Linked DNA regions of Homo sapiens: region 2 is linked to region 1. Evidence: promoter capture Hi-C in human tissues and cell types (Jung and others, 2019). All regions are on one chromosome and are shown on one strand. The core of a region is centred on a gene start or on the middle of the fragment in contact, and the rest is flanking DNA. Distances in the headings are between cores, read along the strand shown.

The links. Contacts are between HindIII fragments. The study calls those that stand out against the background at their distance.
Region 2: a contact is called between a fragment that was not itself captured here and the fragment with the promoter of TMOD2 in region 1, in 4 of the 25 tissues and cell types used here (aorta, dorsolateral prefrontal cortex, lymphoblastoid cells and 1 more).

What each region holds. Positions count from the first base shown.
Region 1 is chr15:51,746,839-51,754,131 of GRCh38, forward strand. TMOD2 (tropomodulin 2) reads left to right here and starts at 4,759. Exons shown (of 10, transcript NM_014548.4): 1 at 4,759-4,874. It also overlaps a transcript of LYSMD2 not described here. RefSeq lists an enhancer at 4,313-4,382 and silencers at 4,493-4,922, 4,973-5,082, 5,113-5,172. The HindIII fragment of the contact is 8,938 bases long and covers 2,510-7,293 here.
Region 2 is chr15:51,820,727-51,828,019 of GRCh38, forward strand. No RefSeq gene overlaps it. Among named protein-coding and RNA genes, the nearest start is that of TMOD3, 5.3 kb to the right of the region's middle. RefSeq lists a silencer at 532-732. The HindIII fragment of the contact is 5,527 bases long and covers 580-6,106 here.

The DNA of each region.
Region 1 (7,293 bases), core at 3,509-6,008:
TCAAAAAAATAATCATGATACTGTTGTCACATCAAAAAATTTTTTAAAATAACACCTTAGTCCAGGCATGGTGGCTCATGCCCGTAATCCCAACACTTCGAGAAGCCAAGGCAGGCAGATCACTTGAGGTCAGGTGTTCGTGACCAGCCTAGCCAACATGGTGAAACCCTGTCTCTACTAAAAAAAAAAAAAAAAAAAAAAAAATACGAAAATTAGCCGGGCTTGGTGGCACACGCCTGTAGTCCCAGCTACTTGGGAGGCTTAGACATGAGAATTGCTTGAACCCGGGAGGCAGAGGTTGCAGTGAGCCGAGATCACGCCATTGCACTCCAGCCTGGGTAACAGAGTAAGACTCTGTCTCAAAACCAACAACAACAACAACAACAACAAAAACTGTAATGCCAGCACTTTGGGAGGCTGAGGCAGGCGGATCACTTGAGGTCAGGAGTTTGAGACTAGCCTGACCAACATGGAGAAACCCCATCTCTACTAAAAATACAAAATTAGCCAGGCGTGGTGGCGCATGCCTGTAATCCCAGCTACCTGGGAGGCTAAGGCAGGAGAATCGCTTGAACCCAGGGGGTGGAGGCTGTGGTGAGCCGAGATCACGCCATTGCACTCCAGCCTGGGCAACAAGAGCAAATCTCTGTCTCAAAATAATAATAATAATTTTAGAAAACAGACCTTAATATAATCAAATATTCTGTGTTCACATTTTCCCTAATTGTCTCATTAATGTGAATTTTTAACAGCTGCTTTCTCAAATTAAGATCACACATTACATTTTGTTATTTGTCTCTTGAATTTCTGTGTATCTATAAGCTTTCTCTCCTTTTATTTTTCTTGCAATTTATTTATTGAAGAATCAGTTGTTTGTCATGTAGAGCTTCCTATATTTTGGATTTTGCTGATTGCATCACTGTGGTATCATTTAACATGATCATGATTACATAGTAATTAGCTTTTAGATGTTTGCTGTCAATTATACTACACATACGATTTAATTCATAATTCATCAACATAGTCACTGCTCCTTTAGTCTTTATCATCCACCATATCCTTTGAAGCATCTTTGACACAAATTATCTCAGTTAGTCTTTCTAATAACCCCATGTGGTAAGTATTATTATCCTCAGTTTAAGAGATGAAGAAGGCCGGGCCCGGTGGCTCACGCCTGTGATCCCAGCACTTTGGGAGGCCGAGGCAGGTGGATCACAAGGTCAGGAGATCGACACCATCCTGGTCAACATGGTGAAACCCCGTCTCTACTAAAATACAAAGAATTAGGCGGGTGTAGTGGCAGCACCTGTAGTCCCAGCTACTCAGGAGGCTGAGGCAGGGGAATCGCTTGAACCCAGAGGTTGCAGTGAGCCAAGATCGCACCACTGCACTCCAGCCTGGTGACAGAACAAGACTCCGTCTCAAAAAAAAAAAAAAAAAAAAAAAAAAAGATGAAGAAAATGAGGCTTAAGGGAGGTTACAGAAACTTGGCCATAGTCATTGTGCCAGTAAATATCTGGGTTCAAACTCTCTGATGTTAAAACCCATGTTGTTATCTGTTATATGATAATATCCCATCACATTGCCTGTGGTTTGTGGTGGTTGTTTTTAATCAACTCTAGGAAGCAGTCTTTCAGTCCATCCAAAGAATGTACTTTCACATTTCATCTTTAACACTTAGGATGCTTTCAGCTTCAAGTAACAGAAAACTCCATCTCAAATTGACTCAACAATAAGGTTATTTATTATCTCATATAACAAGAAATCCAGAAGAAGGGCAGCACTGGGGCTGGTTGATGACTGACTCAACAACAATATGGCCGACCCAGATTCATCGTATCTCTTTACAATGGCCAGAACTGGGTCACATGTCCACTCCTAAACTCTTACAGGCCAGTTAAGAGGATTCTATTCCTCTTGTCTATGATAGATTTGAGAGTGTACCTCTCAGAGGCTAATAGGGTCACCTTTCCTAATGTGTAAACACCCATATAGGCTTCTATAAAGAAGAAGAGGGTGGACTGAATGTTTAATAGACAACCAACAGTGTCTACTACCTGTTCCTAATGAGGTGTGCTACATATTCCACTGTGAATAATTAAAATACTTCATTATAACTGCCACGTTGAACTTTTTTCCTTTCTGCCATTTGACAATTACAGTCAATATATCAGCTTCCTCATTTACAGGAAGAAATGGCTACACAAAATGATATGTAAGGTCCCTTCCAGCTCCAGGAGTTCTGTTTCAATTTTACATTTTCATCTTCTAAAAAGCAAGTAGAAAAGTTAAACTTACAAGATATGGTCCAGAAATGATCATGGGTTTCAACTGATAAGTCATAGGCATATTGACATCCTTTCTTCCTTAAGATAAGACATAGGCAATAGATTTAAAGAGCTAAACAGACTGGAACTGGTAATATCTTTCCATTAAGTTTTAACATTAGGTTAAATGTTCTACTTCCCTCACTCATCCTTTAACACCTTCCAGCTTCCAACACTCATCATACAGACAGAGACTGATCAGAAGTTTCTTTTCACAACTCACTTTATTTTGGTGTCAGCATCCTCCTGGAGCATGGCTCTGGGGCTGTAGGATAGCTCTTGTATCTCTGCTTCGACTGCCGAACATGACTTTAACTTAAATCATTCCCCTGTCTGCTTCCTTTCATGGCTAGTTTCTGAAGGAATACTCTATTCGTTTTATCACATGCAGCCATTTTCCTCGTGCAGAACCACGGGAAACCAAAGAGAAATACTGTACACTACTGAGCACCTTTGCTACTCTTTCTTCCAATATGAATGAAATTGCTTTATTATTTTCAGCATATGCCTACTATCAGCTTTCTCTGGGAAAACTGCTGGCTCGATCCGTAAGCAGCCCTGTTCTTATTTAACAGAAGGCTATGACTGTAACAAATGTACAACATAAAAAAGTCAAAGGCATCCTGTCGGTTACACAGGACATTCGGAATAACAAATGTACAGGAAAACTTGGGAACATGACTTAAAGTAATTTGGTCACACCCCCATTTCATTTAACTCTTTCTGGCTCAGATTTGTCATTCTGACAGGAGGCCCAAGATATAGTCCATTACCACAATTGATCATAGAAACAACACTGGTCTCTCAGTCAGCAGCCACTGCGTGCCAGTGTTCATCATGCTAGTTCCCAGAGTTTTAGAGGATTAACTTTACTTTCTGGTTCAACCCATCTGCTGGGGAAGGTATGGCCCTATTTTGCAATGTGCAAAAGGGAGACAGTGCTGGGGGTGCCCACAGTGGAAGGAGAGAAGACAGGCTTACTGAACACCCCTATGACCTTGAATAAGTCACATCACCTCTCTGTGCCTCTTATTAACTATCATTGGGGAAAAATACCTTCACTCTGCCTGTCTCACAAGGGTTCTTGTAAAAATCAAATGAGAACACAAATAGGAAAGTATTTTCATAAATGCAAACCAGTGTTATCATTTTCAGATGTGGAATTTCCTCTGCAGCACGTTTTTTTGGCCACACGATTACTGCACACCTCGTGCCAGACAGACTATAAAGCTGTTTCACCTCTTTTCACATTTTGCCTAAAATTTCATATAGAGATTACACCAGCCATGCTGCATCCATCCCTTTGGTTCATTTTCCTCCACTACATCTGTGAATGCAAATCCCACCATCATGTGAAACACTGCATAGCAGCAACTTGCAAAACTCAACGAACCTTAGACTGCCAAGATAAGTCCCATAAGCAAAGGTTATGCTCAAAATATGCTGCAAAAGTTCAAGAAGGAGAGAGATATCACATCTAATTAGAAAAGGCCTCTGGAAGTTAAATCTAGATGCCATGTATTTTCATAATGTTGGTCTTTGTCCTATGTCACCCCACTCTGCTGTCATGCTTCAGAAACTTGACTTTATTTTCTCTATCTTTGGAGCTCTCAAGAACCTGGCAGACAGAACATCTCAGGGTATATTCAGGGATGAAGTGAACGGGCTCAACGACTAACAAACCCAGTGGATTTTAACATTTACCCAGCCCAACGAGGTCCAACTATCTTTAGGTTAGCACGACATATAGGACTTTCCCGGCCCAAGAACTCCCTCGGAAACCCCAAGGAAGGAACTTTCACTGAGTATGCACTAAGTGCCAGATCCTAAGTGCTATGGGTCGCTTAATCCTCACAACACTTTTTCAAGCTTGAAGCCTGTTTTACAGATGAGGACGCGAAGGCTCAGACAGGCTAAGTTGTCCGGTCTCACCTCAGTGAAGCCGCCACTGCGCTTGGGCTCTCCAGCCCCTCACGCCATCACCCTAGAGCCTTGCTAACTTCCACCTCGCTTACCTCCTTCCCTCCCTAGGCTGCCAACCCAACTACTCTCTCCTCCCACGCCCACGCCCAGCCAGGAAAACCTGGGGCGGGCGGGGTCTGTACCTGAGACCGCTCTCAACGCGGCTTCCGTGTCAGGATGCTCGCTCACAGGAATGCTCATCACAGGCTTGAAAGCCTTTGCCATCCACGCTCTCCGGAGCCCCGAGCGTCTCCAAAGAGCCTGCCCAGGCTTCTCCCCGACCCAGGTGCTTCCTCCCCTGCAGAGCTGTGGCGGGGTTCAGACCCCGATTCCGGGAGAGGACACCTGTCGGGGAAGGGCGGGGCTGGGGGACTGCGGGGCCGCGGCGAGGCTCAGCCGGGAACTACGCTTCCCAGCCTGCTCCGCTGCAGCCGCGCGCCCCGGCGCCGCGCCCGGCCGGGAGCCGCCTGTTGATCGCCGCGCTCGCCCCGGCCACGGCGCCGCCCCTGTTCTCCCGGCCCCGCTCCACCGGGGCTGACGGACTGACGGCCAGCACAGCCGGCTCCGGGATGAGCGCACGGACGGGTGAGCGCCCCGGGGGGCGGGTGGGGCCTGTTCTGGACAGCCGGTGTCTGCAGCCCCCGGGCCCGCAGCGCGGTGGCCGCCGTGCCCTCCCTGCCCGCGGGAGGATGCTCCGCGACATGGGCGGTCGGCCGGGCGGGCGTGCAGAGCCGGGCCGCCTCTCGCCTCTCGCCTCCCGGCCCGGTCGGCTGCGCCGGGAGACCAGGCGCTGCGCCCGGGCGGGAGGCGCCCGCCGGGGTGTGAGTCCCGCGCCCCGCACTGCGGTGCCGCAGCCTCTGCAGCCCGCTGGGCCGCAGCGGGGAGGGCGCGGTCTCCTGTCCTCCCGGGCTGCGGGGCTGTGTTCTTCCACTCCGGGCTTTGTTCCCCCACTTTTCCCCTTCCTGTGCATGTTTGGTGAGCTCCTGGAGCGGTATGCATCTCCCTGCCTCGTTCAGCAGGCGATGGGGAGGGGTGGACTGGCCGGCGTCTTTCCTGAGATCGCTGGAGCTGTCACTCGCAGGGCGTTTCAGCCTCCCAGTAAGCGGCCTCGTGCGGATCCTCGAGAACCTTATTATTATTGTTATTACTTTTCTGGTTAAAGTAATTGTAGTATGTGCTCCCTTGAGGCTTCCTAAATGTTCCCTGTTGACCTGCGGAAATGAAGGTGGATTTTTAAAACAGTAATAAAAGGCTTCTAATGGGAATTTTTAGAGTATTCAGAGGTAGGAAGGTGATGCCGTCACAATGCAAATTAGCAGTGAAGGAGGCCGTGCTTACTGCAGCTTCGTCTGTGCCCATTACATATCTGAATCACGAGGCATTTAGGACGGGAATGAAAAGAAGATCGGGGGAGGTGTTTTAAAAACCAGGTTCTCCTCTTAGCTTGACCATTCAGGAGCTGAGGGACCTGGGCAAGTCCCTCCACCTCTCTGGGCCTCTGCATGTAAAGGGGCGTTTGGGCTAAATGATTTGTAAACCTCTGTTCTTCCAAGATTCTCCCCTCTCAGGGAACTGAAAAGATGAGAGTGTTTCTGTTTAACAGCACTACAAAAAGCCTAATTGTGACAACAAGCGCCTCTACCCTAGTGAGGAGGAAAGATTTTTCAGAGCTTCAGCAATCTGATTTTTTTTTAAAGATAAAACTGATTTTCTCGATCGACTCTCTTCAGTCTAACCCAATAAATACGCATTGCAATCATTTTAATTTTTGTAAGGTACTGTACATTGGTGGGCAACAAAATGATGGGGTTTGTTTTTGTCTTTAATTTGCTGAAGGTGAAGTGATGGGATCAGCAGATAAAGGATTAGTGGCTCCCTAGGGCTGGGCACGAGTGGTCAAATGTGGTCAGCATGGAGGTCGGGGAGGAAGCCCCAGCAAGAAGTAACCAGAATGTGTATACACAGAAAAGAGAAGTTGCGTACTGATGGATCATTGTTTGAAAAAGAAATATGCAATAGAAGGAATGAGAGAATCAGGAACTCGGCGCTCTGCAAACCTAACATAACAGTTGAATAAGGCAAGGACTTACCAACTGGTCCAAAACCTTTGAGTGAAAGGTGGTTGGGGAATAGGATTTTCATATTATTTCAAAGTATCTCACCACAGTTTACTCTGGGAAAATTTGTCCTTACAATGGAGAAATTAGGAGGTCACCACTGGAACCAAATGACCAAGTTTAGCAGCATCTACTGCGAGTCTCCCGTTGTGAAGCAATAAGGAGGCATAATTTCACCTCTGTAGTGTTCCTGCAAAAAGACTTGGCGATGGGGCAGAGCAAATGGGAGCAACTATTGTAGGTTAAAATACTCAAGTGATACAATAGTGAATTGGGATGTGTGAACTTTGAATCCTAGATGCAAAAAAAAAAGCTATAAAAGACAATTTGGAGATAGTTGGGGATGTTTGAATATGGATTGCATGTTAGATGATATTATGGAATTGGTGTTAATTTTCTTAGGTGCAATAATAGTTCATTCTTGTGGTTACCTAGACCAGACAATCCTTATTCTTTGGAGATGTGGATATTGGAGGTGAAGTGTCATGACATCTGCAACTTTCAGCTGTGTCAGAAAAAAAAAAAAAAGGATAGGGGTAGCAGAACAAGTTCAGGAACGTAGCAAATGTGGCAGAATGATGACGGTTGGTGAATCAAGAAGAAAACAAATGTTTATTGTACTATTCTTTTAACTTTTCTATAGATTTGAACTTTAAGAAATGGGGAAGTCAATAAAATAAATAAGCGAATAAAGAGAAAGTGTTGTAGAAGACGGGGGTGGTTCGTGACAAACAGCTGCAGTGAATCTGTGGGGAATTTCTTGGCTTCACCTTCCCAAAATTGAAATCACCTATTGGAGGTGTGAGTGGGGGGGACGGGGGGTTGGTGTTCCCATTTTTGGTTTATCTTGGCTACTCTCAATCATTTATGCTTAAGTACCCCATCCT
Region 2 (7,293 bases), core at 2,093-4,592, 72 kb after region 1:
GAAACAAATGATGATGGAAACAGAACATACAAAACCTGTGGGATACAGTGAAAGCATTACCAAGAAGGAAGTTTATAGTGTCTACATCAAAAGAAGAAGAAAAACTTCAAATAAATAATGAGGCATCTTAAGGGACTAGAAAAACAAGAGCAAGCCAAACCCAAAATTAGTAGAAGAAAAGAAATAATAAAGATCAGAGCACAAATAAATGAAACTGAAATGAAGAAAATAACATAAAAGATCAATGAAACAAAAAGTTGGTGTTTTGAAAAGATTAGGAAAATTGACAAACCATTACCCAGACTAAGAAAAAAAAAAAAAAAGAAGACCCAAATAAATAAAATCAGAAATGGAAAGGGAGACACTACAACTTATACTACAAAAATTCAAAGGATCATTAGTAGCTACTATGAGCAACTATGTGCAAATAAATTGGGAACCTAGAGGAAATGAATAAATTCCTAGACACATAAACCTATCAAGATTGTACCATGAAGAAATCCAAAGTGTGACCAGACCAATAACAAGTAACGAGATTGAAGACATAATAAAAAGTCTCCCAGTAAAGAAAAGCTCAAGACCTGATGGCTTCACTGCTGAATTCCACCAAACATTTAAAGAAGAACTAATACCAATTCTACTCAAACTGCTCCAAAATAATAGAAGAGAAGGGAATACAAACTCATTCTACAAGTCCAGTATTACCCTGAGACCAAAACTAGACGAAGACACATCAAAAAAAGAAAATTACAGACCAGTGTCTCTGATGAGTATTGATGCAAAAATCCTCAACAAAATACTAGCAAACTGCATTCAACAAGACATTTAAAAGATCATTCTTCATGACCAAGTAGAATTTATCCCTGGAATGCAAGGATGGTTCAACATACACAAATCAGGCCAGGAGTGGTGGCTCACGCCTGTAATCCCAGCACTTTGGGAGCCTGGACAACAAGGTGGAACCCTGTCTCTACCAAAAAACAAAAAATTAGCCAGGCATGGTGGTGTGCACCCATGGTCTCAGCTATTAAGGAGGCTGAGGTGAAAGAATCGCTTGAGCCTAGGAGGTAGAAGTTCCAATGAGCCAAGATTGTGGTACTGCATTCCAACCTGGGTGACTGAGCAAGAATCTCACTCAAACAAAAACAAAAAACAAAAAAAAACCCACCAGAAATCAATCAATGTGACACACCATATCAACAGAGTGAAGGACATAAACCATATGATCATTTCAATTGATGCTAAAAAAAAAATTGATAAAATTCAATGTCCCTCCATAATAAAAACCCTAAAAAAACTGAGTATACTTTGGGAGGCCGAGGTGGGTGGATTACGAGGTCAGGAGATTGAGACCATCCTGGCTAACACAGTGAAACCCCATCTCTACTAAAAAATACAAAAAAATTAGCCAGGTGTGGTGGTAGGCACCTGTAGTCCCAGCTACTCGGGAGGCTGAGGCAGGAGAATGGTGTGAACCTGGGAGGCAGAGCTTGCAGTGAGCTGAGATCACACCACTGTACTCCAGCCTGGGCAACAGAGCGAGACTCCATCTCAAAAAAAAAAACTGGGTATAAAAGGAACATACCTCAACATAATAGAAACCATATGTGACAGACCCACAGATAGTTTCATACTGAATGGGAAAAAATTAACTCTTTCCTCTAAGATCTGGAACAAGACAAGGATGCCCACTTTCACCACTGTTATTCAACATAATACTGGAAGTTCTAGCTAGAGCAATCAGACAAGAGAAATAAATAAAGAGCATCCAAATTAGAATAGAAGAAATCAAATTATCCTAGTTTGCAGATGACATAATCTTACATTTGGAAACACCTAAAGATGCCATCAAACAACTATTAGAACTGATTAAAAAAATTCCGTAAAGTTGCAGGAAACAAAGTCGACATATAAAAATCAGTAGCATTTCTATATGCCAACAATGAACAACCTGAAAAAGAAATTTAAAAAGTAATCCCCTGATGGTGCTTTTCATGTTCTAGTAATGCACACATTTTGGCCCAGCCTCCTGATACCACAAGTTTCTTTTATGTACTTAGGCTCACTTATGGATGCATCACTTTAAAAGCCAGGAATTTAGGAAAGGTTCATAACATTTTTATAGAACCTTAAGCTTTTTGAAGGGTAAACACTTGTAAAACTTCTCTAAAGAACTGGTTGGGTGCGATGGCTCAAACATGTAATCCTAGCACTTTGGGAGGTCATGGTGGGTGGGTCACTTGAAGTCAGTAGTTTGAGATCAGCCTGACCAACATGGTGAAACCCTGTGTCTACTAAAAATACAAAAAAATTAGCTGGGTGTGGTGGTGCACGCCTGAAGTCCCAGCTACTCGGGAGGCTGAGGCAGGAGAATCACTTGAACCCGGGAGGCAGAGGTTGCAGTGAGCCAAGGTCGCACCACTGCACTCCAGCCTGGGCAACAGAGCGAGATTTCATCTAAAAACAAACAAACAAACAAACAAATTAAAAACTTAAGGAGGATAAAAATGAAGACAGTTTAGTTAATGGGTACAAAAATACACTTGGAATAAGTTTTAGTGGTTCAACAGCACAGTAGGGTGACTGTAGTTGTCAATAATGTATTGCATATTTCAAAATAGCTGGAAGATTTGAAATGTTCTCAACACAAAGAAATAATCAATGTTTGAGATGATGACCAATTACCCTGGTTTGATTATTACACATTGTATCATGTAGCAAAATATCACATGTACTCCCATGCATATGTACAATTATAATGTATCAATAAGAATTTAGTAAAAGACAAAAAGAAACAATTATTTAAGACTTTTAAGCAAATAGGAAAATAAGCTGACAATCACTACAAATATCAAGAAGGAATCCATTGGCTAGATAACCTAGAAAAAACAATACATTGTTTTCAAGCCAATAAATGTTTATAAAAAATTCAAATAATACAAGGAGGCCAGGCGCGGTGGCTCACACCTGTAATCCCAGCACTTTGGGAGGCCGAGGTTGGAGGATCACTTGAGGTCAGGAGTTTAAGATCAGCCTGGCCAACATGGCAAAACCCTGTCTCTACTAAAAATACAAAAATAAGTCAGGTGTGGTGGTGCACGTCTGTAGTCCCAGCTACTCAGGAGGCTGAGGCAGGAGAATCGCTTGAACCCAGGAGGTGGAGGTTGCAGTGAGCCAAGATCGTGCCATTGCACTCCAGCCTGGGCGACAGAGTGAGACTCTGTCTCAAAAACAAATAATAATAATAAATAAAAATAAATAAAGACAAGGAAAAGTAAGCAGAAGTTAAATCATATCACAACTCTGGTCTTGGTAGAAGGGTTTGGGGCATCTAGCATTTATCATTTAAAGACCTGAATTTAATTCTTATTTAATTCCATTTATGACAGGGATCATATTCATTCACTCACCTGAGCTGAAATTTGGCTTTCTGCAGTGACTGTAGGAGAGTCTAACAATGGACAGCACTGGGAATTTATTGCTTCTATAGTAAATGTTAAACTGAACAGTTTTAGCACTAACATTTTTAATATTATTAAAATAGTATTAAAATTTGGGGATAATATTTTAGGTTTATGTGCATATCCCAGAAGTTTATTCTTTAATAGTGATGTTTGTCATCAACTTTGGCTTCAGCTGAAGAGTGACTTATTTTTTGGCCCTTTTGGCATTTGGCTGAAATGTGTATTCAGTGCACTTCTAATGGAGGCATAATGGGGTATGAAAATATGGGAAAGGCAAAATTAATTCCAGCTGATGGCATTAGTGAAGGTTGAGTGGGGAACAGACATTTGAGATGGACAATGAAACATGAGGAGGCTTCTAACAGGCAGAGATGGGTTATAGAAAAAGGGGCACTTGAGGCCAAAAAGTGTGCTTGAATCTTTCCTGTAAAACTGTATGCACACAGGCGTGGTGGCTCATGCCTGTAATCCCAGCACTTTGGGAGGTCAAGGAAGGCAGATCACCTGAGGTCACGAGTTTGAGACCAGCCTGGCCAACATGGTGAAACCCCGTCTCTACTAAAAATACAAAAATTAGCCAGGCATGGTTGTGCACACCTGGAATCCCAGCTACTTGGGAGGCTGAGGCAGGAGAATGGTGTGAACCCGGGAGGTGGAGCTTGCAGTGAGCCAAGATCACGCCACTGCACTCCAGCCTGGGTGACAGAGAGAGACTCCATCTCAAAAAAAAAAAAAAAAAAAAAACCGGTATGTACCCAGCCATGATGTTTGTCTTCTGTGATTGCTACCTCCCACTGCTTCCATAGGATTCCTACCTCCAAGCTTCCATAATGAAATCCTTCCCTTTTCATTTCAAATTTTTGTCTTTAGTTTTTCTCAGCTCTCCTATAAATACACGTTTTTACATACACACAAAATATGCTTACATATACCAAAGTAACTATTTCCTAAAGGAACTCTTTGATAACAAGAAAAGTGCTGCTGTTATTAATTAGCATACGATGATTCAGTGTGACATGCTTTCTGAGTTATTCTGGCTGGAAGTTTAGAGATAACACTAATTAGAGCTTGTAATATTAACACATAAAGTAGAGTTGAAGTGTCATTTTATCAATCACTTTCACTCTAACCAAACCCTGAACACTAATGGGAACCATACTCTGTCCCTTGTTCAAATATTTTACCTGAAGGCCTCAGATTTGTTCTCTGTAGTGTGTTAGCCTGTTGAACTTCAACAGTTTTCCATTACTTGAAGTGGGTTAAATGCAGACGGTTGGGGGTGCCATACCACTTCTAGTTCAGATCATCATGTTTCTTTGATTAGGCACTATAGTAGTCAGCTTTTGCTAAGTAAGTCTATAGTAACAAACGAACCTAAACCTCAGTTTCCCCTTCGCTCACATTATATATTATGTCAGCTAGTGGCTGAGGCTCTGATCCATGTAATTTCTTATTCTAGAACCCAGGCAGAAGGACCAGCCTCTATTCAGAACTTGTCTCTCTTGGTGGAGGGAAAGAGCAGGCACACTAGTAGAGAAAGGCAGTGACTCTTAAAGCTTCCACCCAGAACTGTCGGATTGTCCCTTCCACTTATATTTTATTGACCAAAGCAAGATTCATGTTTCTAAACTTTGTGATTACAATATGACATTTAACCGAAGAGAGGAGGAAAATCCCATCATGGGATCATAGCCAAGCCTGGAATGCCTGCGGGGCAGCACTGGAAGTCACATAGTAGTGGGCAAGCCTGTCTATTCCTCTAAAGGAGAGCAAATATGTGGGAACAATATTTCAATCTACCACAGGTATTTAGTGGACTTACCTTTTCACTTATTTATGTAAATCTAATTTCCATGTTTTTCCTGTTTGTTTTCCTCCAAGAATTATGTTTCCAACTCTAAGGGAATAGTGGCAACCCTAAATTATAGCCTTTTTAAAAGAGAGCTCTGTCTCTATTTCAGGACTTTCACAGGATCTTATTCTCCTGTGTAGTCAACCCTCTTGCAGCTGGTGTTTACATCCAAATCAGGTCACTGGCTGGCATTTACAGGTGAACCTTCTGGGTCTGTGTCCCAAGAGGAGAGTAGGAGAGAGAGGGAAGAACCCAACATTCATTTATTTACAAATATTTATTGAATACTTTCTGTGTGCAGGCAGTATTGTAGATGCTAGGGATGGAGGAGTAAACAAAGCAAAGCTTGTTGAGCTTCCACTAAGGAAACAAGCAATATGAAGCTATGTGGTAAAAGTGCTATGACGACAAGTAAAGAAAGGAGAGAATGGCAGGGTAAGGTGGTAAGAGGAAGACTTTCAGAGGTAACATGTGAGCAGAACCTTCATTAAAATGAGGGCATGAGCTAGAAGCATCTGGGAGGAAAATCATTCTCCTGCACAGCATAAAGACTCTGAGATGGGGAGAAACTTGGCAGGATTAAGAAACCTCAGGGAGGCCAGTATGACTAGAGCAGTATCAGAGAGAATATGTGGTAGGAAACAAAACAATCATATACAGATTTGTAGAGGTGTTAATTATGGATTTTATTCTAAATGTGATGGAAGCCATGAACGGTTTGGAGCAAGATGGTGATATGATCTGATTTGTTTTTAAAAGATCATTCTGGGCTGGGAGTGGTAGCTCACGCGTGTAATCCCAGCACTTTGGGAGACCAAAGTGGGCAGATCACCTGAGGTCAGGAGTTCAAGACCAGCCTAGTCAACATGGCGAAACCCCGTCTCTACTAAAAAAATACAAAAATTAGCTGGGTGTGGTGGGGTGGGGGGCCTGTAATCTCAGCTACTAGGGAGGCTGAGGCAGGCAGAATTGCTTGAACCCCGGAGGCAGAGGTTGCAGTGAGCAGAGATCACGCCACTGCACTCCAGCCTGGGCGACAGACAGAGACTCCGTCTCAAAAAAAAAAAAGTCATTCTGGCTGCTAATATAGCGAATGTGTTATAGCAAAGGAGTGGAAGAAGTGAGGAAGGTTCTACCTCTTCAGTGCTATCCAATACTAAGGTATTACTCTTAACATCTCTGGCCCCATATGTGGTATTTAATGTACACGGATTTAAGAGATTCATGTTTATAAGCTTTGTGATAAAAATATGATAATGTATGCCTGAAGAAAGGAAAAAATCCACCATCAAACTGCATTATTTTAGAAAAAGGAACTAAAATAAGATGTATACATTCGTTAGGAAAAATTTGAAATGAATAGCGAAAATATATTTAATATATGCCTAACAGCCCATATTGGAAGGTGAGAGAGGAAAAGTGTAATAGATTAAGTCAGTCAGACACTGAATTAAAAAGTCTCTCTGACCAAAGCAAAAGAAGCCATATTGCAGAGGAAAGTCCTTCTTAAAATAAACCATATCAGCTGGGTATGGTGTTGCATGTCTATAATTTCAGTACTTTGGGAGGCCACGGTGGGAGGGTCCCTTGAGCCCAGGAGTTCAAGACCAGCCTGGGCAACATAGGGAGACCCTGTCTCTACAAAAAAAAAAAAATTAAAAAAATTAGTTGGGTGTGGTGGCATATGCTTGTAGTCCCAGCTGCTCAGGCTACTCAGGAGGCTGAGGTTGGAGGATTGCTTGAGCCCAGGAGGTCACGGCTGCAGCGAGCCATGATAGCACCACTTCACTACAGCCTGGGTGACAGAATGAGATTGTCTCAAAAAAAAAAAAATTGATGAGATTTAGGAGACACATCAGTCTGATCAGCAGTGGAAATCACATTAGAATTTGACTCAAGAGAACTGTGTCTCATCTCTGGATCTCCAATTACTGGCTCTGGGACCTTATACAAATTACTTAACTTTTCTGAGTCTTC